Linked DNA regions of Homo sapiens: regions 1, 2, 4 and 5 are each linked to region 3. The links are contacts of gene promoters, found by promoter capture Hi-C in blood cells and fetal thymus (Javierre and others, 2016). All regions are on one chromosome and are shown on one strand. Each heading gives the region's core, a stretch centred on a gene start or on the middle of the fragment in contact. The rest is flanking DNA. Distances are from core to core; before and after follow the strand shown.

What was found. The method cuts DNA at HindIII sites, captures the fragments that hold promoters and counts their contacts. A CHiCAGO score of 5 or more calls a contact.
Region 1: a fragment that was not itself captured here is called in contact with the fragment with the promoter of NXPH1 in region 3 in 9 of 17 cell types (endothelial precursors, naive CD4 T cells, total B cells and 6 more); the score reaches 15.7 in endothelial precursors.
Region 2: a contact is called between a fragment that was not itself captured here and the fragment with the promoter of NXPH1 in region 3, in 1 of 17 cell types (total B cells). The highest score is 6.5, in total B cells.
Region 4: a contact is called between a fragment that was not itself captured here and the fragment with the promoter of NXPH1 in region 3, in 2 of 17 cell types (endothelial precursors and M2 macrophages). The highest score is 8.1, in endothelial precursors.
Region 5: a fragment that was not itself captured here is called in contact with the fragment with the promoter of NXPH1 in region 3 in 14 of 17 cell types (naive CD8 T cells, total CD8 T cells, non-activated CD4 T cells and 11 more); the score reaches 22.1 in naive CD8 T cells.

What each region holds. Positions count from the first base shown.
Region 1 is chr7:10,904,898-10,909,681 of GRCh38, reverse strand. No RefSeq gene overlaps it. Among named protein-coding and RNA genes, the nearest start is that of COXFA4, 33 kb to the left of the region's middle. RefSeq lists an enhancer at 1-517. The HindIII fragment of the contact is 214 bases long and covers 2,251-2,464 here.
Region 2 is chr7:10,770,412-10,774,775 of GRCh38, reverse strand. All of the region lies in intron 1 of MGC4859 (a long non-coding RNA gene), which reads left to right. Among named protein-coding and RNA genes, the nearest start is that of MGC4859, 7.4 kb to the left of the region's middle. The HindIII fragment of the contact is 573 bases long and covers 1,967-2,539 here.
Region 3 is chr7:8,431,833-8,436,121 of GRCh38, reverse strand. It overlaps NXPH1 (neurexophilin 1), which reads right to left and starts at 2,513. Exons shown (of 3, transcript NM_152745.3): 1 at 1,367-2,513; 2 at 355-518. The coding sequence starts at 408. RefSeq lists enhancers at 306-853, 854-1,401, 1,402-1,949. The HindIII fragment of the contact is 6,580 bases long and covers 1-3,829 here.
Region 4 is chr7:10,431,073-10,435,617 of GRCh38, reverse strand. No RefSeq gene overlaps it. Among named protein-coding and RNA genes, the nearest start is that of MGC4859, 350 kb to the left of the region's middle. The HindIII fragment of the contact is 2,154 bases long and covers 677-2,830 here.
Region 5 is chr7:10,880,546-10,885,307 of GRCh38, reverse strand. No RefSeq gene overlaps it. Among named protein-coding and RNA genes, the nearest start is that of COXFA4, 57 kb to the left of the region's middle. The HindIII fragment of the contact is 8,498 bases long and covers 1-4,762 here.

The DNA of each region.
Region 1 (4,784 bases), core at 1,108-3,607, 2.5 Mb before region 3:
TAGAGATATCTCTGGTGTCTCTTCCTCTTCTTATAAAGACACCAATCCTAACAGATTAGGGCTCCACCCTTATGACCTCACTTAACCATAATTACCTCCCTAAAGGCAATATATTGAGGAATTGAGAAACATAGTCATATTGGAGTTCAGGGGTTCAACATATGAATTTTGCAGGGACACAATTCAGTCCATAATAGATGATTTTACTTGTCTTACAAAGGCAGGATGCATCCCCAACTAATTTTAGGTAATAAGAAATGGAAGGACTGTGTATCAATTTATTGTAGTTGTATTACAGTCCCAAGCAAGGCAGGGCATCCTGGGAATGGGAATTTGTAAAAATGCCAGGGTAAACAGGATTGGGAATTGGAGTGATAGACAAAGACAAGACTGTTTGGGAGCGTGGGGGTAGTGATAGGAAACAGACATAATTGAAATGGTTGGCCATTAGATTTAAACTAATGCTTTCCTAACTTTTTTCATGTCATGGCAGGAAAAGGACATAGATATGATAGTTTTTGTGGCATCTGGAGGCATCTATATGGGATGTGATGGGAAAATTTTTTTAAATTATTTTTTAGGAATATATACTATAATATAGCAAATATTATGTAAGATATTGAAAGGGCTCCATTGTCTGGGGGTATATATCCTGGCTCTTGGTCGTGGTTGAGAAATAATTCAGGACACTGACACACATGAGGAGTGGGTTCAGGAGCAGAAAGTTTAATAGAAAAAGAAAAGAGAGAGAAAAAGCTTTCTCATATTGAGAAAGTCGGTAGCCTGAGGGTCTTCCGTTTGCAGCGGAATGCAGTTGGTTTTGTAAAGAGGCTTGAGGAGGCGGTGATTGATTTACATGGGGCCAGGGGACTGGTTTTACCAGGTGTGCCATTTACACATCCCACGAAAAGACTGGCCCTCCCACCCTAGTCTTTTATTATGTAAACTTGGCCTCCACGTGGCTGGTCGCCATGATGCCTGTACACGTGGTGTCATCTGGAGGCTGCCATGACAGCTGGCACACGTGGTGATAAGAAAAAGAGGGCAGGAGATGCCACATTGAATGTACCTGGCTTCCAGGTACAGCTGCCTGCATTTACATATAAAAGCTTCCAGTTTGCATATCTATGCCTGACTTCTCAGGCCGCTTTCTATTAGAGAAGAAATGGTTTGGGGTTGCTTTTTATTAAAGGAAAATTGCGCGGAGAAGTTTAACCTTCTCTAGCTGCCTAAAAATAATTTCTTAATAACTCCTGTATTAATATTAACTATTGAATTTGCATACTATCCTAAATAAAATCTTAATTTTTTTTTGAGGCAGAGTTTTGCTCTTGTTGCCCAGGCTGGAATGCAATGGAGCGATCTCGGCTAACCGCAACCTCCGCCTCCCGGGTTCAAGCGATTCTCCTGCCTCAGCCTCCCGAGTAGCTGGGATTACAGGCATGCACCACCATGCCCGGCTAATTTTTGTATTTTTAGTAGAGATGGGGTTTCTTCATGTTGGTCAGGCTGGTCTCAAACTCCTGACCTCAGGTGATCCGCCTGCCTTGGCCTCCCAAATTGCTGGGATTACAGGTGTGAGCCACCACGCCCGGCCTAAAATGTTTTAATGAAAAAAACCTGAGTTTCTTTTCATAAGCATACTTAATTGTTGCTGTTGTTGTTGTTGAGGCAGAGTCTTGCTCTCTCACCCAGGCTGGGGTACAGTGGTGCGATCTCGGCTCACTGCAACCTCCGCATCCTGAGTTCAAGCGATTCTCCTGCCTCAGCTGCCCAAGTAGCTGGGACTACAGGTACGTGCCACCATGCCTGGCTAATTTTTGTATTTTTAGTAGGATGGGGGGGTTCAGTATGTTGGCAAGCCTGTTCTCAAACTCCTGACCTCAGGTGATCCACCCACCTTGGCCTCCCAAAGTGCTGGGATTACAGGTGTGAGTCACTGCGCCTGGCTGCATACCATTTTTAATGCCAGCATTATTACTTCCCTAGGATGACCATATGCAATTCCTTATCAAGACTTCTAAATGATAATACCTTTAAATTCTCAACAGTCATTATTGATAAGAAATGTTATTCACATAAGTATGTAATAAAAAAATTAAAACAAATTTTATAGGACAATTCAATTTTAGAAGAGTTGAAATCAGTTTCAAAAACTTTTTAAAAAGCAGCTTTTCCTTTCTTTCCATGGACAAATGTAATGTTAGAATTTTTTTTTTTCCATCAGGTGATTTCACATATAATTAAGCTTTTTCAGACCAAGCATTTAAATGCATGTGCATTGTTAGAGGAATCATCCTATAGTTAGCTTGGTGGCTACCAAAAGGGTAAATTAGCCATGAATATTAATTATTTATAATGACAGATTTTCGGGATGCAGCCTCCAGCTCTGCCTGTCTGACTTCCTCACCCCCAGCTTTCTGGAGTGTGGGCTGTTATAACTTGGCTGTGTGGAACAGAAGCTTCTTCAACAGCTTCCTGGCTCATTGTGTGTAATGGGCAGTGGCTGCATGCTGACATTGATTTTGTGGACATCCAGATGATAAAACACACCCTTGTCTACTCTTATCATTTTAAGACAGAACAGGAGACAGCAGATGTTACTCATCACTTCTTGTGGGCATCAATTGGGCTGCCCTCTGAGGAGCCCTAGAGAAGGCTGCTTTCTGCCAGAGGTGACAGGTGGTGCCCTGGTAGATCCAGGTCCCAGTGTGCCACCTCCAAGATTAAAGATGGCATTGTTTCAGGGAGCTCTGCTTACGTTTTATAAAGAGGCTAGTAATATCAGAAGTGGAATAACGGTTAAAGTCAGAAGAGAGATGATAGTTTGTCTCTTGAAGAACCAAGAAAAATTTTGATAAAATGAGCAGGCTCATTAATTCGGAGCTTAAATTCTGAAAACTATCTCTTTTTTTCTTTTTATCATATAAAAACAGTGCCATATTTATTTAGGCCACTAGATCATTCAGCTCTGTCTTCTTTGAATACTGCCACCAATAAATATTTTCTAGGGAAGCAATTTTTTTCAAGCAAGGACTAAAACCAAATTTGCTAACTTTTCTGGATAATCTATTATGGATTAGTCATCTGTGCATTTGTGTTAATCTTCTTGAATCTACTGCAATACTGTTCTTGATAGTAGCCCATATATAATTTTAGATAGCTTTATTGGGAAATGATTCTTATAGCGTATACTTCACCTACTTAAAATGTGCAATTCAGCGGTGTTTCACATATTCACAGATATGTGCAATTATCACTACAGCCAACTTTAGAACATTTTAATCACCATCAGGGTTGCACAAGAAAGAACAAGCAGGGGCATGGAGGTTAGGTTTTGTAGTAATGAAAAGATGAGGTAATTCTTGGTACCCATGAGAGGATGTGATTGGCTTGTTTGAATTTCATGGAGTGGCAGGAAAGTAAAACTTACTAGGTTGAGGGCTAGCTGGGGTGTAGCAGGTACAGCTGATAGGGGAACTAGCCAGGTGGGAAGCCTTTGCTGTTAGTTGGGAGAACGTAATAAGAGCGAGGGGTCCCGTTGTTAGAACTTTGGAACTTAAACTTGTCTATGAAGCTTAAACTTGTCAAAGTAGCACATGAAATGTTATACCTCACAATACGAAGGGTCCAGCTTCATTCTTTTGCATGTGGCTGTCCAGTTATCTCAGAACCATTTGTTGAAAAGCCTCTTCTTCCCCTACTGGAGAGACTTGCCATCTTTGTCAAAAATTGGTGAATTCACTGATGTATAGGCTAATTTCTAGACTCTTAACTCTATTGCATTTACCTTTATGTCTATCATTGTTTCATTACACAGTCTTGATCTGCATTGCTTTGTAGTACGTTTGGAAATCAGAAAGTATGAGTCCTCCTGCTTTTTTTTTTTTTTTCAGGGTTGTTTTGGCTAAAGAGCCAATATTCTTTTGGAGGTCATATTAGAAGTGAATTGAGATCGATGTAGAAGAAGAACATAGCTATTGTAGACTAAGGAAGGGTTTGCTTTTGCTTAATAAATGTTCCTTTTTAAGAGAGGCAACTTTAAAAAGGAGGTAAGTAGAATGAGAGAGGAGAATCCTTCCATAAGGCGGAATTAGCCCTGGATAAGGTGATAGTAAAGTGGGAGATGTCTAAATAATATAGCATTTACATCCTTACATATTGAACTCAATAACAGTTGAGAGAGTAATTAGCTCTACTCACTAAATATTTCCAGATGCAGGTAGGATTGCACTCTCCTGTACCTTGAGGTGACTTGCACTGGATAACGATATATGGACAGAAGTAATGCTAGTCACTTCTACACAGAAAATATGAGTCAGTGCACATTTTACCGTTTGTTCTTCCTCTTACCCTGAAACATGGAAACAGGCAGATGAACTTTCCTTAGTTGGAATTCCTGAGTGAGGAGAATATAGGGCTAACTTCACCCCCTAACTCCCACCCAAGCTTACTCATAATGGACATGTAGCATGAGTAACAGACCACTGTTGTTCTAAGACACTGGGTTTGATTGTTACCAAATTTGTTACCAAAGCATAATCAAGTCTATCCAATAGAAAATTGATACCAGAAGTAGGGAACATCATAAGTCTAAAATTTGTGGCATTGGCTTAGGGATTTGAAGATAGCCTGCAAAAAATGGTTAGTGAAGACTGGAAGGATAGCAATCCATGTATTGTGATACAATTCTTGGGGGAAATATTACATGCAATGACTTAGAAGGAGAATTATGATCCAAATGAATTTGTAACTCTTAGGAAAGAGGTTTTAAGCAAAGTATT
Region 2 (4,364 bases), core at 1,004-3,503, 2.3 Mb before region 3:
AGTTAAATTAGTACATTTATTGAACAGAACTGAACCTACGACATAACACATGTGCATTATGACATGTGAGGCATAGCATGTAGATGATGCATAGACAGCCGACCTGCAGAACCACTGACTCTTATCTATAGCTAGAATTCATTTAGGATGCCTGGTATCAGAATATGCACTGAAGTGCTGAATATATCAACCCATTTTCTGTGTTGCTTCTGTGAAAGCTTATACAACTTCTTTGACAAGGAGTTCTGTTTTGGGCAGTGTCAGAAAAGTTTGCTAGGCATCACTGGTACAAACAATAGGACCTCTCAGATGCAAAAGTTTCTGGTCGAAAGAGCTCAAATGGGGCTTCCATTGGAGTAGATTATTCACTGCCCCTACCCAGTCTTCTTGTCCTCTTCTCCCACATGGAGCTCTTTCTCTAACTCATTATATTTCTCACCCTATTTCTTTGCCCCTCTCCTTTTTTTTCCTGTCTTCCATGAAATATTATAAACTCCAAGTTCTTCACTTTATATTTGTCCTTATCTCTGAAATTTATAAATAATGCAATCTATTATTTACCTAATAATGAACTAGGTGCTTTGCAGTGTGTTATCTAATTTAATCCTTGCAACAACTTTGCAAGTTAAGTTATCCTCTTTTTAAGCCACCATCTATTTGTGTTTGAATGACTGTGTGTATGTTTAAGACAGAGTGATTTTCATAGACTAGCATTTATTAATAATTTGCAGTACCACCTTCTAATTGGATTGAAAAAGTGTAACATCTACTAGAATATCTTATGCATTTAGTGCCTAATCATTTAGATTCTATTTTAATTTGTATTTCTCAGTATAATGGGGGTTTCATTCTTATGCAGTTTTGAGAAGTTTATGTTAAATTGAATGTCCCAGAATGAAATAAAATCACAAAGATGACAGAGTACAGTGATTTATCATTCTTTTTCTGTATATACCTCTATGAAGTAAGAAGACATTGCATCTTCTGTTTTTAGGTAGCACTACTTATATTTTTTTTAGTAAAGAGTTGTCACCGTGAAAATCAAAAGCAGACACATCATTTAAAATCCCACAATTAAGTATATGCTTCTCAGCAGCACAGTGACATCTTTGATAGTGTGGGTAATGTATGTTTTCTTCTCAGCTATCGGAAGCTGTGGTAATGGAAGCCAAGCTCAAACATCAAAGAAAAGAGGTTTTCCTTTGTAGGAAAACATCATTACATTTTCACACCATTAGGGTGATAGAAGTGTAGCACCTCCTCTGCATGAAGTAGATGCTTTTGATTTTTTTTTTAAGTAAACATCGACTAAGAAGCATGTAATGTTGATCATTACTTGTGTATATATTAGTACCACAATGCCCCAATAATGCCTATTGACTACCACCTTATTAACATTTTTAGGAAGGGGGTGGGATATTAAATAACTCACTAATTGAAACTCACTTTAATTAATTATTAGCAGTTACTTAGGCATATCAGCATCTAATTTCCTGTCTTTTAAATGACATTCCTTTGAAAACTTGAAGGTTTCTTCATGATAGCCTCGTAAAAATCAGCCATAGCAATTATTAAAGTGAGGACATCAGGCAATTTAATCTCCAACTGAAATCAGGACTAGATGCCAAGAAATGACCGGAATGCCCATTATTCTACTTTTCTCCATATTGTTAATGAACCGTTTTACTTAACAAAGGGTATATATACTTTAGAAACTGAGCTTACTGAAGGAAAAGTTTTACTTGAATAAAGCCAACATTGCCAAGATGCTTATTATTTTCTTGTTTAAGGAGGGTGAATACAGGTGAACCAAATATACCTGAATTCTATAGGTATTATTTTCATTGTTGTTCATATAACTTTACCTTAAACAATGTACAGTACCCAAGATAACACTGCTAAAATAATAGCAACGTAATGGTAATGACAAAAGCATCTCAAATCCATAAGGAGAAAGCAAAAAGCTTCATTTACTGCACTATTTCACACATCCAAAAAGATGGCCAGTTGTAGAATGTAAGCTCTTCTACAGGGAACAAAAACAGCAAGAGAAACAACGTGTTTCAATGGTTAAACCATTTTCTGATTGGTTGAAATTTACCCATCTCTTTGTTAAAGCTGCTGAGAAGTTAGCAAGGCCAAAATGGTACCCTGAGCAGCTGTCATTTATTTAATTTTCACCTACCAATATTCCTCAGATTAAATAATGTCATCCCAAAATCTTAGCAGCTACCACTTAGTTCATAGTTGCCTATTAATATTCTTAATGCTAACTATAAAAACTTTGGGGCATATTATAGAAATAATGACATTGATTTAGTATCTTCCATTTAAGCAAAACAAGTTTTTGCTTTACTGTGGCACTGGTTTTTAAAAAATACAAAAAATTAGCCTTGATATTTATGTAAAGCAGGAAGCCATGTTCTTTTGAAAACATTCCCTTCTAGTGATGATATAAGATAATTTATTATTTTAGTGTCGTTCTCCAGGTGATTTGATAGCTTGTGGTAGCAATGTTGGGGACAACGGCAGCAAAGCTTGAAAGACAGAAAATGGTAGCATTTAGTCCTGCAATAGCTATACCTCTGTCTGATTTTCAGGTGTACTTCTATCTGCTTTTATTATTTATGCTACTGTTTTCTCTTTTTTTCCTGTTTATTATTAGTTTTACTGGTTGGTCCAGATTGCTGCTTATTTCCTTTCCCTTCTCGTGTAGTCTTCAAATAATTAGTAATTCCAGTGGTATTTGGCATAGAAAAATAAAAATGGATTAATGAAGCATACTAGTGTCCAGAAATATATCCCAGTAAATATGAGAACTTAATATATGATAGAGATTCAATTCAATAGGAAAATAATGGTTTATTTAACAAAGAATCTTGGCACAATTGTCTATTCATTTGGAAGGAAATAAGTTTAGAAGCATGCCTTACATCATATATGCAGACTTCAGATAGAATAAAATGTAAATTTAAACACTGAAAATCTTAGAAGGAAATATAGGTTACTTCATGTAAAGGTTAGGGATGGAGAGCTCCTATCAAATATAGGACTCAGAATCTATAAAAGAAAAGAGACATACATTCAGGTATTTATGAATTAATATCTATTGTATAAATAAATTTTCATCGCAAAATTAAATAGAAAATATAGATTTTTGGAAAAAATTAAATGCAAATGACAGAAAAAGGGACTAATCTTTAAAATAAACAGAACCCTTAAATAATAAGCAGAGCCCTGAATAATAAACAAAAACAACTCTATTTAAAATGTACAAAAAGATTTAACTCTGTAATTGATAGAACAAATCCAAACGGCTAATCACATTTTTCAAGAATCTGAAGTTCACTACTTAGAAAATGCAACTTAAAGTAGCAGTGAGATATCACTTTATACCCATCAGATTGTGCCATTTAAAAAGAGCAATTACATCTACTCTGATGGGGTTGAGGAGACAGGGGGTTCTTACATATTGCTGTTGAAATGTGACTCAGAATGCAGTCTGGAACGGTCTACTAAATATAGAGATAAACATACCCTTTAATCAGCAAACTTATTCCTGGGAATTGAGCCCATAGAAATAAAAGCATTGAGTGCATAAGATTTATGTAAAAGAAGTTTATTGCTGGAATATTTGTGGTGGGAACAAACTGGAGACAAAGTGAATGCCCGTGAATAGAATAATGCACAAATAGATTGTTACATCCTTACAATAGAATATTGTTTTTCATTAAAAAGTATAGATTGGATCTTTGGCAGTTAACTTGGAAATGTTTTCAAATGAGAAGAGCAAGAATACATTAAAAAATGGGCATAATAGTTTCAATTTTAGGGAATAAACACTGACCAAAAATGTACCAAATCTCTATGTAGGTGGCTATGTCTTTGTATATTATTCTTCTGGTGTGGATAAGGTTATGGAAGTCACATGACTTGGTGCTAACATTAGAGGTGTTGTTGTATAGTGATGAGAAACATGGACCTTGGAGTTAAAATTCTTACGTTCAAATCCTGGCTATGTAATTTACTCGCTGTATGACTTTGGGGAAGATTTTAATTTTTTTTTCTATGCTTTAGTTTTCTCTTTTATAAAACAGGGATGGTGCTAGAACCTATCTCATTGGATTGTTGTATTAAATGAGTTAATATACACAAAGCACTTTAAAACTGTGCTGGTTGTACAATGCTATCAACTTATCAGTTACACGAGCTTGGGTAATGTGAATGGGGAATAACAGAGAAGAGAAAATAAAGAAAAAATCACCATGGAAAGAAAGAAATTAGCAAGAGTCCTCTTTTCAGATGGTTTGTTTCTCTGGGTGCTCATGTTGGTTACCCAACCGTGTCTTTCACCAGCCTGCTCT
Region 3 (4,289 bases), core at 1,264-3,763:
TTTAAACTCTGTGCATGAGCTACTGAGAGTTCCTGCCTTCCACTTCTTCTCGTTGGCCCTCTATCACATAAAGCACCCCATCTCACTACCTCCTTGGGTTTAGGGTGTCTGGGGCGCCCTAGCCCCTTTCAAGAATCACGCGCAGGAGACTGGGGGATTGGAGCAGAAAATGGGGTGGGAACCCCGGAAAATCCGCAGGAATCCAGAGACCAGCTTGCCAAAGTTGCTCCAACACAGCTGCTAGGAAGCTGCTCTCACTGAACTGGCGGCGTAACCCTTCTCCCGCGTGTCCCCAGTTTCCTTGCCTCCCGGCCGGGGTAAAAATGCGAAAGCCCCGAACCTTCCAAGACTTACCAAGTAGACGGTGGGCTGCAGGAGGAAAAGCACGTACCAGCACGCAGCCTGCATTCTCCCGCGTCTCAAACTTCCTTGGCGGTGCCTTCTTTGAGTCTTTGTTCCTTCAGAAACATAGATCCACCTGACATCCACTTTACAGAGCAAGGAGCGCTCTCAGCAGCCTAGATGCAAATAAAATTAGACATCCCATGACTACGCGGGCAAGGTTAGGCTTGACAATCAAGCGGGGAAAGGGGGTCGTAGCGGGGAGTGGGGGACCAAAAAAAAAAGGGAGGGAGGGTACGAAAAATTGAAAAGCGAGTAAATCCAGCGCCTGAGACCAGCAAGCGCGCGGTCCGCAGCTGGGGAGGCGGGCGGGCGGACGAGAGGGAGGGTGAGGGGCTCCTTGCCCCCTGCGCTCCTCGGGTGCGAGTTCCCAGGCGGCGGAGCACACTGAGCCGCGTGCAGGCTGGTTCGGAGCCCAGGCTTCTCCGGCAGCGAGACCTGCCCTTGTGTTGGGTGGCCCGGCGGCTCGGACTAAAGGCGGCGGCTGGTTCTTCGCCAGCCCTGGCAGTGCTCACACACGTACACACCAGCAGAGAGAGATAGAGGGGAAAGATAAAGGGAGAGAGAGAGATTGAGCGAGGGGGGCGCGGTGAGAGGAAGAGGTAGGTAGAACTGACCGCGATTAGGTGCTAGGTACCTCAACACGTTCGGTGAAGTGGGGGTGGGGAAAGAGAATGCAATTTGCATACAGGAAAGCAGGGATCAGTTTACCCATTCGAACCCCTGGCGCACACAGAGATACCCACGAATGCTCACAGTCACATCTCTAGCACTACTTTTTTCGAGCCAAAGGGTACAGCCGGTCGCTAACTTCTAGAGAAGAAGCCTCCTCCGAGCTGTGAGGGTCACCTGCCAGGCTTGTTCTCTTTCCTAACCAGCGCCCCTCCCTGCCGTCCCTTCCTCGTGCCCACCACCCCGCTCCCAGGTGTACCCTCCGGGAACAGCGGAGGCAAAGGGTACGTACCGCACAGGACTTGGGGCGAATCCTGCGAGAAGGGACCGCTCTGGGCAGGCTCCATGGAGAAGCTACTCGGGCCTGGCGTCTCCAGCGCCCCGGACGTGCCCTCCCAGGCGCTCCGTCTCCATGCTCGAGCGCAGACGGGTCCGGCTGCCTCGTCCAGCTTTGGCGGAGTCGCCGTCCCAGTGCCCGGGTCGCGCTCAGGATTGGTTCGCGGGAGCCAAGGCTTGGCACAGTTGGATTCACGGTGCAGGAAACTTAAGAGGCAAGAGAGGGAGGGAGCAGTAGAGGAGGAAAGAGAGGAAGACAGAAAGGGAGGGAGAGCAAGAGGGAGGGAGAGAGGGGAATGCGCCGGGCTGCTGCACCGGACGGACTGGGACTGCCAGCGCTGGCACCCGGACGAACAGTCCAGGACTCTCGGCTTCCCACAGCTGCCTGAGGATGGTGGAAATGACTTAAGGGGAGGAGACTGAGCAAGTCCTCTGGACTTGAAGTGGAGAGATAAGACACTGGCCTTTCGGAAGAAAAGAGAACCACACGGCAGACGAGAGCAGTCCGAGTTTCTGAGGGAGGGGTGGGGTGGCGAGAATCTGGAGCCTGCGGCACACGGAGCAGCTGTACCTCTACCCGCGACGCTGGGAAGCCCAGGAGCCGGTCCCCAGTGGAGTCCCGGGCGCTGTCCCTGGTGCTGCCCGGCCACCCGGGGACGCTCTGGAGCGCTTTGGGTTTCCGGCGGCCGCGGTGGTCGTGGTTTCTCCGCAGAGCCGCGGCTTGGCACGCCTACCTTCCTGACACGGACAATTACTTTGGCACGTGGGTGAATGATTCCTCAAAGACTAATTAGTACCCTGTGTAAACAGATCCGGCTCTCAGGCTCTCGCGGGCTGGGCCCACAGGGACAAGTGGCTCCCGCGGTGTCTTCGGTGGCCGCAGCGCCCCCTTCCCGGGGGGCGTAGGGAAGATCGCAAAGCCCAGGGGAGTGGCGGGAAGAGCAGCCGGGAGTCGCGTAGGGCGGGGAAGGGCGCGGGAGGGTGCAGGGCGCCCCTGCCGGCCTCGAGCGCCGACGCCGGGCGCCTCCGACCTGTGGCTGCCGGGCCGGAGGCGGGGGAGCCGCAGACTGCCAGCCATTCAGCTCGAGACAGCCGAGAGGACTGGGCGACCTTGGCCTCTGGACTCCTCGCCGCCGGCTGGGCTGAGCGTGAAGGGGGAGGAGGAGGACGGGGGATGCTTCGAGCCGTCACCACCTCCCTCGCTACTGACACCTCCCACTCAACCAGCGTCTCCCAGACTCGGCCTCTGTGCTCCGACTCTGGCTGTCTCTGTCTTTCTCAGTCTCTCCCTTACTGTCCCTATTTCTCAGTATCTTTCTCACTCCCTCTCTCTCTCTGTCTCCTTCTTCTGTCATTCTTGTGGTCTGCGTCTCTGTCCCTCAGCATCTTTCTGCCTTTTTCTGCCTTTCTGTGTGTCTCACTCAGGATTTCTGACTCTAGGTCTCTGTATCTCTGTGCCTCTACCGTGTCCCTGCCATTCCCCCTCAAACCCTGTTTTGTTTTTTGTTTTTTTTCCTCCACCCTTCCAGTGCACCACCACCAGAGCAGTTTCACCAGTCTCGGGAGACAGCCAGGACCAGCTTCTTCTGGTGCTGGTGGGGTTGCCAGTGCTCCTTGAGCTTGCCCAAATTCAGGGCACAAATCGGAACCCGGAAGAGGGTATCTCTTCCCCAACCTTGCCCATTGCATCTCCAAGCCTGCCCTTCACCAGAGCCTCTCCTGGGGTGATGCACATATCCATATCAATCTGTAGGAATTGTATGGAAATTTATCTCAGGAACCTGAGTTAGTGACATCAAAATCGAATTGTGATATTTAATGAGTCTGGAATGTCCTTTCCTCAAGTGTGGCTGTGGACACTCTGGCAGGTCTGGGCCTAGATACAATGTACACTCTAGACAATAGGTCCCAGGCTGAATTCCCCTGGATGATGGAGACCACCCCTCAAACAAGGCAGTGACAATCAGCAGAGCCACCCAGTCCTGCAGCAGAGGCAAGAGGAGCCCCACTGAGACCTTCCCCTGGAATCAGATCTCCAAAGACCTCCAAATTAGATCCCCACTGTAGAACATACCTACCAGCACTTTGAGGTCTACACTCTCCCTTCCAGCTAAAAATAACTCTTTAAAGAGCAAGCTCTTCTAATCTTAAAAGTTGTACTCTGCTGCTGTGACCTCCTGGAATTCATTGGGGCATATGCAGAATAAAGCAGTGAAGCACACCTTCTAACTGTGTCTCTGAAAATCCACTTCAGAAAAAACGCACATGTACATATAGCATAATTACAATGTTTTCTTGACTATTTTCACTTACCAGCTATTTCATTTTCTTAAAAACTTTAAACTTTAAAGAAGAAAAATTAAAGTATTGGGGCACCCGTATCTGAGGCCAAATGGTCAAAGCAGGGGCAAAAAAAGCTTTGTCTAATTCCATCCTCTAGGATTCATAAGGCTATCCTAAAATTGATTCCTATTTGTACAGGAGCTCCCAGGCCTCCCAGACTGGAGTGTAGAGCTGGAGCAAATGTTGCCTGCCTCTATCTGGATTCCCAGCTACAATGCTGTCAGAGCTGAACTTCTGTCTGACCTTTGGGAAAATGAGAAAGAATCCGGCTAGCTTTGGAATATACCAAGTTCTTTTCTAAACCTTACTTTAAAAACATTCTGCTTCTAGTGCCATTTAGCCTTAAAAAAATACTGCTTGTGAAATAGAAAGATGATCAGAGACCTTAAAATGTCTGTCTGAATGGGACTGATTATTTAAGAAAAGCACCACAGGCACCTAGTAATGGGAACAGGTTTGACACTTTGTTCTATGACACAGGATGCCAAAGAGCTTTTTCTGTTAATGACCTGAGATCTTCTGCCCAGACATTCAAC
Region 4 (4,545 bases), core at 504-3,003, 2.0 Mb before region 3:
CAAGTATAATGAAACCTATCGGGTTTGGAAATGTGAAGTTTACTGATAACCTAGACATGAGCCTGATTATAGTGCATTTAAATAAAAATGGCAGGGACAAAATTGAAAACACTTTTCAAATGGTTGGCTCTTGAGTAAGCTTGTCTAACCCACGGCCCACAGGCTGGAGGCAATCCAGGATGGCTTTGAATGTGGCCCAACACAAACTTGTAAACTTTCTTAAAACATTATGAGATTTTTTTTTTTTGTATTTTTTTAACTCATCAGCTATTGTTGGTGTTAGTGTATTTTATGTGTGGCCCAAGACAATTCTTCTTCCAATATAACCCAGAGAAGCCAAAAGATTGGACACCCCTGTTTTAGAGGAATGGAAAGTAATGGGGCAGTACCTGTAGGGAAAAGAAGGGTTGTTTATCTCATTAATGAAAGAAGTGTTATATTTTATACTGAGGGAGAAAATTCAGTAAAAAGGAAAAAAATGATTAGGCAGAGGGAATAGAGAGTTTTTTGGGTTGTATTTTTGATCAAGTGGGAGGTAATAAGATCTAATGGAGGAGTAGGTGTATTGTTCTTAGGAAGAGCAATGATATTCCATTAATGGGAGCAGGCGAAAAGGCAGGGAATATGAGACAGATGCAATTGGTTGGCTAATGGGATAGTAGGAATTTTGGAAGCTTTATTTTCTTTTTCAGAAAAATAAATACAAAGCAAGGTCATCAGTTGAAGAGCAAGAGTGAAAAAGAAAATATTGGAAGTTTGAGAAAAGTTTAGATAACATAAAATAGTTGTTTATCAAAGTAGAGGAATGGCTAGACAGGAGAAATGTAGTAGAGATGAGAACTGGGTAGTATTAAAGTCTCACTTGAGGTTAGTGCTTATGAATTTAATGTTAGACCAGCCTGAGAGAGTGAGTGAGTGTGTGTATGTGTATTTCCTGAAATTTTTATCTGCCGGGACATGTATGAAATGGGCAAAGAGAGGGATTCCATCATGATTGAAGCAAGAAGAAGAAAGTAAACAAAACGAGTCTGGGTGTGGTGGCTCACGCCTGTAATCCCAGCACTTTGGGAGGCCGAGGCAGGCGGATCACGAGGTCAGGAGATCGAGACCATCCCGGCTAACACAGTGAAATCCCGTCTCTACTAAAAATATAAAAAAATTAGCCGGGCGCGGTGGCGGGCGCCTGTAGTCCCAGCTACTCGTGAGGCTGAGGCAGAAGAATGGCGTGAACCCGGCAGGCGGAGCTTGCAGTGAGCCGAGATTGCGCCACTGCACTCCAGGCTGGGCGACAGAGCCAGACTCTGTCTCAAAAAAGAAAGAAAATAAACAAAACGAGTAGGGGAATTGAGAGTGTGTGCAAGCAAATGGTAATTCCTGAGAGAATTCAAGGAAGGCAAGTAAGACATGAGGGTGAGAAGAACAATATAATGGTTATGGGATGAATTGATTGCGTCTTAATTTGGATTCAAAAATTGTAGAAGTTACAGTACAAGAAGAGGACAGTTGGAATAGCGAAAGATTATTGATGGAGAGTGGAGAACTTACAAAATGGAGAGTAGGACAAGGCTCCAGCATTCGCTAATAACAAGATCAAGGGCTTTGCTGAAGTAAGTAAGGAGAGGTCAAGGAACTAAGGGTGCTTGGTAGGAAAAGCATCACATATGTGATTACTACTCCAGGAGCTATGATAGCTGTTATGTTGAAGGGAGTGACAATAAACTAGGAAACTAAAATCTTCAAGGAATGAGATGGAGTGACCTGGGGGTTGGTAGAGGACTTCAAGAGGCAGTTAGAAGGTGTTGTAGACTGATGATATGAGATTCAAACATGGGGAAAGAGGAAGAAAGAAAAATATTGGCTGTTTCTAGAATTGCTTATTATATATTTTCTAATTACCCTGAATAATTATGAAACACTTTCATATCTTTTAGCATATTTTATTTTACAAGGCAGAGGAATGTAGAATATGTTTTAGAAGGATTTTGTTCAATAGCTATATATGTATATGTTTCTTTACTATTTCGTGCTTAAAAGTGTACTAGATGTGAGCTAAAATATAATTATACTGATATAGTGAAAAAATCATTAATCTACATTACCTTTAAAATTACTTTGCAATAGAAAAACCAGTTGATCACTAAATAGAGAAATATAATTTAATAAAGTAAAACACCTTTTAATGATAAACTTTTATCAAAATAGAATTGGAGGAAGTTTATTTAAATTTGTAAAAGGTCTCTTCCAAAAACTTATAGGAAGTAGTATACTTAATAATAAAATTTTAGAATAATTATTTCAAAGTCAAGATGCAATTTTAAATGCCTGCTACTACTACTTTTATTTCATATTGTATTTGAAATTTCATCCAGCACAGTAAGAAAGCAAAATAAATACAAGAATTGGAAAGGAAGAAACAAAAACTCTCTTTACCTGCAGATCATATAATTACCCACCTAGAAAATTCAAGAAAATTTAGAATATTGACTTTATTTGGATTTCATGTCTCTGAATTCCCATTTGAATTTCCATCAAAACCAGTACTGTAACATCTTCAAATGTCACAGTAAATATTATTGTAAATAGAATTAGTAGAAAAAAGTATTTGCATTCTATATAACATCTTAAAACAATAAAGATAACTTCAAGGTAGGGAAGAATTCCTTGAACCACCAAAACTACAAACTAGAAAGTGATAAATTTGACTATATTAAAACAAAAACAGCTTTACAAACAACATCACTTCTGAATTAAAGGCACTAAAAGAAAAAGACAAGTCACAGCCTTGGAGATGTTATTTTAAATACATATAATTTACCAAGGGTTGAAAGCTTAAAAATACAAAGAATTTTGGCAAATTTTATAAAAAAGCAAAAATTCAATGAAAAAAATGGGAATTAACAGACATGAAATCCAGATCAAGTCAATAAATATTATAAAAATATCTTCAATTGTAGGCAGGATAGTACAATGTTAAACATTATGGCCATCAAAATTATCACCCCCAAAGATGTCCCCAGAAACTGTGAATTAAAGTTGCAAATAGAATTAGATTGCTAATTAATTGGCTTTGAGATGGGGAGATTATATAGCGTATGGTACGGTCATCGACCTACTGGGCCGGGTGCAGTGGCTCATGGAAGGAGGCCGAGGTGGGTGGATCACCTGAGGTCAGGAGTTCGAGACCAACCTAACTAACTTAGAGAAACGCTGTCTCTACTAAAAATGCAAAATTAACCGGGCTTGGTGGCGCATGCCTGTAATCCCAGCTATTCGGGAGGCTGAGGCAGGAGAATCACTTGAACCCAGGAGGTGGAGGTTGCAGTGAGTCGAGATCGCACCACTGCACTCCAGCCTGGGTAACAAGAGTGAAAATCTGTCTCAAGGAAAAAAAAAAAAAAAAAAATCCGAGTCATTAAATTTTAAGATGTCACAGCACTGGTTTTAAAGATAGAAAAAGGGACCATGAGCCAGGGAATGAGGCAGCTGCTCTTCTGGAAGCCCTGGAAGGAATGCAGCCCTGTAGCCTCTTGACTTTAGACCCATTTTGGACTTCTGGCTTCCATAAGTGGGAAATAATAAAGTTATGCTGTTATTGATTTGTGCTGTGCTGTGGTCATTTGTTATGGCAAAATAAAAAAACTAATATAAGCACAAATGAAATACCATGACAAATATTTAAAAGTCACCAGGATGGCAATCATTTAAAAGTCTGACAATGCCATATGTTAAGAATATGATAAAATGGAAAGTCTCATACAATGCTGGTGACAGGTGATAAATCAATACATCTTCTTCAGAGGGCAATTCCACAGTGTCGAAAATGTTTATACCCTCAGCATCAGCAATTTTATTTCTAGGTTTATTTTAGAAAAATTATTACACTTGTGGACAAAGAGACACAAACAAGGATTGCTTGAGAGAGCTGTTGTAGTATGAAAATTTGGAATCAATATAAATTTTCATCAGTTAGAGAATGGATAAATCTGATGGAATAGTGTATAGCAGATGAATGGACTACAACTACTTATATCAGCCCTGGTAAATTGCAAATATGTAATTTTGAGTCAAAAAAGCAAGTTTCAGAAGGTATGTGTGTGTGCACGTGTGTGTATACACATATATACACACATATATTCAGTATACACACATATATAATATTACTTATGTACATTTTCAAATGTAGAAAATTTTTATATAGTTTTCAAATACATAATTATTGGTACAACTATAAGAAACGTCTATGGGAATCTAAATGCCAAGATCAGAATTTCGATGACATCTAACAGAGTTTGGAAATTGAACAGAAAGCTTTCAATTCTACCTATAATGAGTATATGGATGTTTCTTACTCTACATACTTTCTAATATGGCTAAAATATTTATTTTTTTAAAATAAAGACAAAACACATGTATACTTGCTTACTTCTGGTGAATACCTTCTTCCCAAACGATATTAGAAAATTAATACCATAATGTACATGATAAACAATTATATATTTATACAATTTTAGTTTAGAAAAACCAACAGGTTGCATAGTAGATGCC
Region 5 (4,762 bases), core at 8-2,507, 2.5 Mb before region 3:
AAGGGACTATAAATCATGCTGCTATAAAGACACATGCACACGTATGTTTATTGCGGCACTATTCACAATAGCAAAGACTTGGAACCAAACCAAATGTCCAACAATGATAGACTGGATTAAGAAAATGTGGCACATATACACCATGGAATTCTATGCAGCCATAAAAAATGATGAGTTCATGTCCTTTGTAGGGACATGGATGAAATTGGAAATCATCATTCTCAGTAAACTATCACAAGAACAAAAAACCAAACACCGCATATTCTCACTCCTAGGTGGGAATTGAACAATGAGAACACATGGACACAGGAAGGGGAACATCACACTCTGGGGACTGTTGTGGGGTGGGGGGAGGGGGGAGGGATAGCACTGGGAGATATACTTAATGCTAGATGATGAGTTAGTGGGTGCAGCACACCAGCATGGTACATGTATACATATGTAACTAACCTGCACATTGTGCACATGTACCCTAAAACTTAAAGTATAATAATAATAATAAAAAAAAAGAAAAAAAATTTGCCAGGCATGGTGGCAGGCTCCTGTAATCCCAGCTACTTGGGAGGCTGAGGCAGGAGAATCGCTTGAACCCAGGAGTTGGAGGTTGCAGTGAGTGAGCTGAGATCGTGCCACTGCACTCCAGCCTGGGCAACAAGAGTGAAACTCCATCTAAAAAAAAAAAAAAAACAAAAAAAAAAAAAAAAGAAGGGGCCTTATTTTGGCTGGGTTCATGCCTGTAATCCCGCAACTTTATGAGGCTGAGGCAGGAGAATCACTTGAGCCTAGGAGTTTGAGTCCAGCCTGGGCAACATGGTGAAACCTCATCTCTACAAAAAATACAAAAATTAGCTGGGCGTGGTGGTGCATACCTGTAGTCCCAGCTACTTGGGAGGCTGAGGTGGGAGGAGCACTTGAGCCCAGGGTGGTGGAGGCTGCGGTGAGCTGTGATCACACCACTGCACTCCAGCCTGGGTGTCAAAGTGGGACCCTGTGTCAAAGAAAAAAAAAAAAAGAAAAAAAAGAAAGTGTCATATTTTTATACCTGCTTCCAGCACTGACTTAGCAGTGGAATCATCTCTGTTAGACTTTGCTTTTAATATTGCAATCATCACTAGAATAAAATGAAATTTCAATTTTATGTTTTTTAATGATAAACAATTAAAAATACTTCAATAGTCCATGAAATATTCATTGTATTTTAAGTTTGCATCCAGAGAATATTTAGAGATCACCTTTTAAAACAACATCAAATAATTTTGACTAGAAAACACTTAGACCTCTTTAGGAAAGAGAGCATTGTAGGGTTTTATAGAATTGTGCAGCTCATACTTGCATAGTTGGTCAGTGGCAAAGTCTGGCCCAAAAGCAAATTACCTGTTCCCCCTGAGATGCTCATTTCTTAAGTATGAGGTTCCTGAGGAACTGAAAATAAACGAAAGTTGAAAATGTTTTAATAGATGAATGCACAGCTGAATTCTACTAGACATGTAAAGAATAGCTGATACCATTCCTGCTGATACTATTCCCAAAAAATCGAGGAGGAAGGACTCCTTCCTAACTCATTACATAGGTCAGCATAATTCTAATACAAAACCTGGCAGAGACACAAAGAAAAAAATTTCAAGCCAATATCCCTGATGAGCATAGATACAAAAGTCCTCAACAGAATACTAGCAAACTGAATCCAGCAGTACATCAAAAAAGCTAGTCTGCTATGATCAAGTAGGCTTTATTCCTGAGATGCAAGTCTGGTTCAGCATACACAAATCATTAAATCTGATTTATGACATAAACAGAACAACAAACAAAAATCACATAATCATCTCAATAGATTCAGAAAAAGGCTTTTGATAAAATTCAACATCCTTTCATGTTAAAAACCCTCAACAAACTAGGCACTGAAGAAATATACCTTAAAATAAAAGCCATTTATGACAAGCCCACAGCCAATGTCCTACTGAATAGGCAAAAGTTGGAAGCATTTCCCTTGAGAACCAGAACAAGACAAGATTGCCTACTCTCACCACTTCTATTCAACATAGTACTGGAGGTCCTAGCCAGAGCAATCAGGCAAGAGAGATAAATAAAAGGAACCCAGATGGGAAGAGAGGAAATCAAACTATCTCTCTTCACAGATGAGTTAAGTCTATAGCTGGAAAAACCTCATATTCTCTACCCGAAGGATCCTAGATCTGATAAACAACTTCAGTACAGTTTCAGGATACAAAATCAATGTACAAAAACAGTAGCTTTCCTTTAAAATTTTTTTTTTCACAACTTTTAAGTTCAGGAATACATGTGCAGGATGTGCAGGTTTGTTACATAGGTAAACACGTGCCATGGTGGTTTGCTGCACTGATCGTCCCATCACATAGGTAATAAGTCTAGCATCCATTAGCTATTCTTCTTGATGCTCTCCCTCCACCAAGCCCCCATCTTCCAACAGGCCCCAGTGTGTGTCGTTCCCCTACAAGTGTTCTCATCATTGAGCCCCCACTTATGAGTGAGAACATGTGGTATTTGGTTTTCTGTTCCTGCGTTAATTTGCTGAGGATAATGGCTTGCAGCTCCATCCATGTCCCTACAAAGGACATGACCTCATTCTTTTTATGGCTGCATAGTATTCCTGGTTGTATATGTGATATGGCTCCAATGACTGGAGGAACACCAGGATCCTTGGTCTTGTGCCAATTTAAATAAAATGACACGGACACAAGTGGAGTGGTTTTAAGGTATGGAGAGTTTAATAGGCAAGAAAGAAGGAAGAAGCTCCCCACTACAGAGACAGAGGGAGAGGTCTCCAAGCCAAGAGAGGAAACCCTGAGGGGGTGGGGTGGAAACAGCCAGTTATATGAGGAGGCTAGAGGAGGTGGTGTCTGATATTTGCATAGGGCCCAGGGGATTCGTTTGACCAGGTATGTCATTCAAGTAGCCCACAAAAAAACTGGCTCTCCCACCCTAGACTTTTAATATGCAAATGCAGGGCACCATGATGTCCTACACATGCAGGGATATGTGGGGGCAGCCATGTTGCTAGGCACATGTGGGGACAAGAAGAGGACTTTGGGAATCGCCATGTTTGGGTGGACCCAGTTCTAATGGCTAGCATTTGCATATTGAAGTTTGCCAGCCTGGCTCTTAGAGCCAGGGCTTTTCTGCTAGACAAGAAATGTTTCTGGAGCTGCTTTAAAAAAAGAAAAAACCTTCCCAAGGACCCCTTTTCCTCTCTATCTGCTAAAATAATTTCTTAATAACTCCTATAACATATGCACCACATTTTCTTTATCCAGTATATCATTGATGGGCAGGTAGGTTGATTCCATGTCTTTGCTATTGTAAGTAGTGCTGCAATGAACATACATGTGCATACATCTTTATAATGGAATAATTTATATTTCTTTGGGTATATGCCCAGCAATGAGATTGCTGGGTGAAATGATATTTCTTCCTCTAGGTCCTTGAGGAATTGACACACTGTCTTCCACTATGGTTGAACTAATTTATACTCCCACCAACAGCATAAAAGTGTTCCTTTTTTCTTCACAACCTCATCAACATCTGCTGCTTTTTGACTTTTTAAGAATAGCCATTCTAATTGGTATGAAACGGTATCTCATTATGGTTTTGATTTGTATTTCTCTAATGATCGGTGATGTTGAGCTTTTTTCATATATTTGCGGTCGCATGTATGTGTTCTTTTGAGAAGTGTCTGTTGATGTCCTTTGCTCACTTTTTAATGGGGTTTTTTTAATGAATTTAAGTTTCTTGTAGATTCTGGATATTAGACCTTTGTCAGATGCATAGTTTGCAAATATGTTCTCTAATTCTGTAGGTTTTCTGTTCATTCTGATGATAGTTTCTTTTGCTGTGCAGAAGCTCTTTAATCAGATCCCGTTTGTCAATTTTGGCTTTTGTTGCAATTGCTTTTGGCATCTTCATCATGAAATCTTTGCCAGTGTAGATTTTCTTCTATGGTTTTTGTAGTTTTAGGTTTTACATTTGAGTCTTCAATCCATCTTGAGATTTTTATATACGGCGTAAGGAAGTGGTCCAATTTCAATTTTCTGCATATGCCTAGCGAGTTCTCCCAGCACCATTTATTAAATAGGGCATCCTTTCCCCATTGCTTGTTTTTGTCAGGTTTGTTGAAGACCAGATGGTTGTAGGTGTGCAGTTTTATTTCTGGGTTCTCTATTTTGTTCCATTGGTCTACGTGTCTGTTCTTGTATCAATACCATGCTGTTTTGGTTACTGTAGGCTTGTGCTTGGTACCATGTTAGTTACTGGGAATGTTGTAATGAATATATTTGAAGTGAACTCTGCCCAGCTGGAGCAGCAAGGGCAAGAGAGTAAAATGATAAGTGATTTGAAGGAGATGAAGAGTGTAAGGATAAAGAATGTTGCTTCTTACCTTGGGTGAATGAGTTGAGAATACTTAGAGAGGGTAGCCAGGAAAGATGTCTGAGCTAATATCATTTAGACTGAAACCATTGCGAACAGAGTTGACCCCCTGGACCTCAGGGTTCAGTATGGGTAGCACTATCACAGGTGATGTGCCTGTCAATGACCTTTCTTCGTCTCTAGGACTTCTGAGTTTGAGTAATACAATGTGGTCTTATTTTCTTTTCCTTTATGAAGGCATTTGGCTTTTATCTTTGTTTTCTGAGACAGCTGTTTCATTTTATTGATAGATGTTATGTCATCCTATAGCAAGCCAGTGCCTATTTCATCTTATGAGGATTGCTTTCTTCTACACATTTTT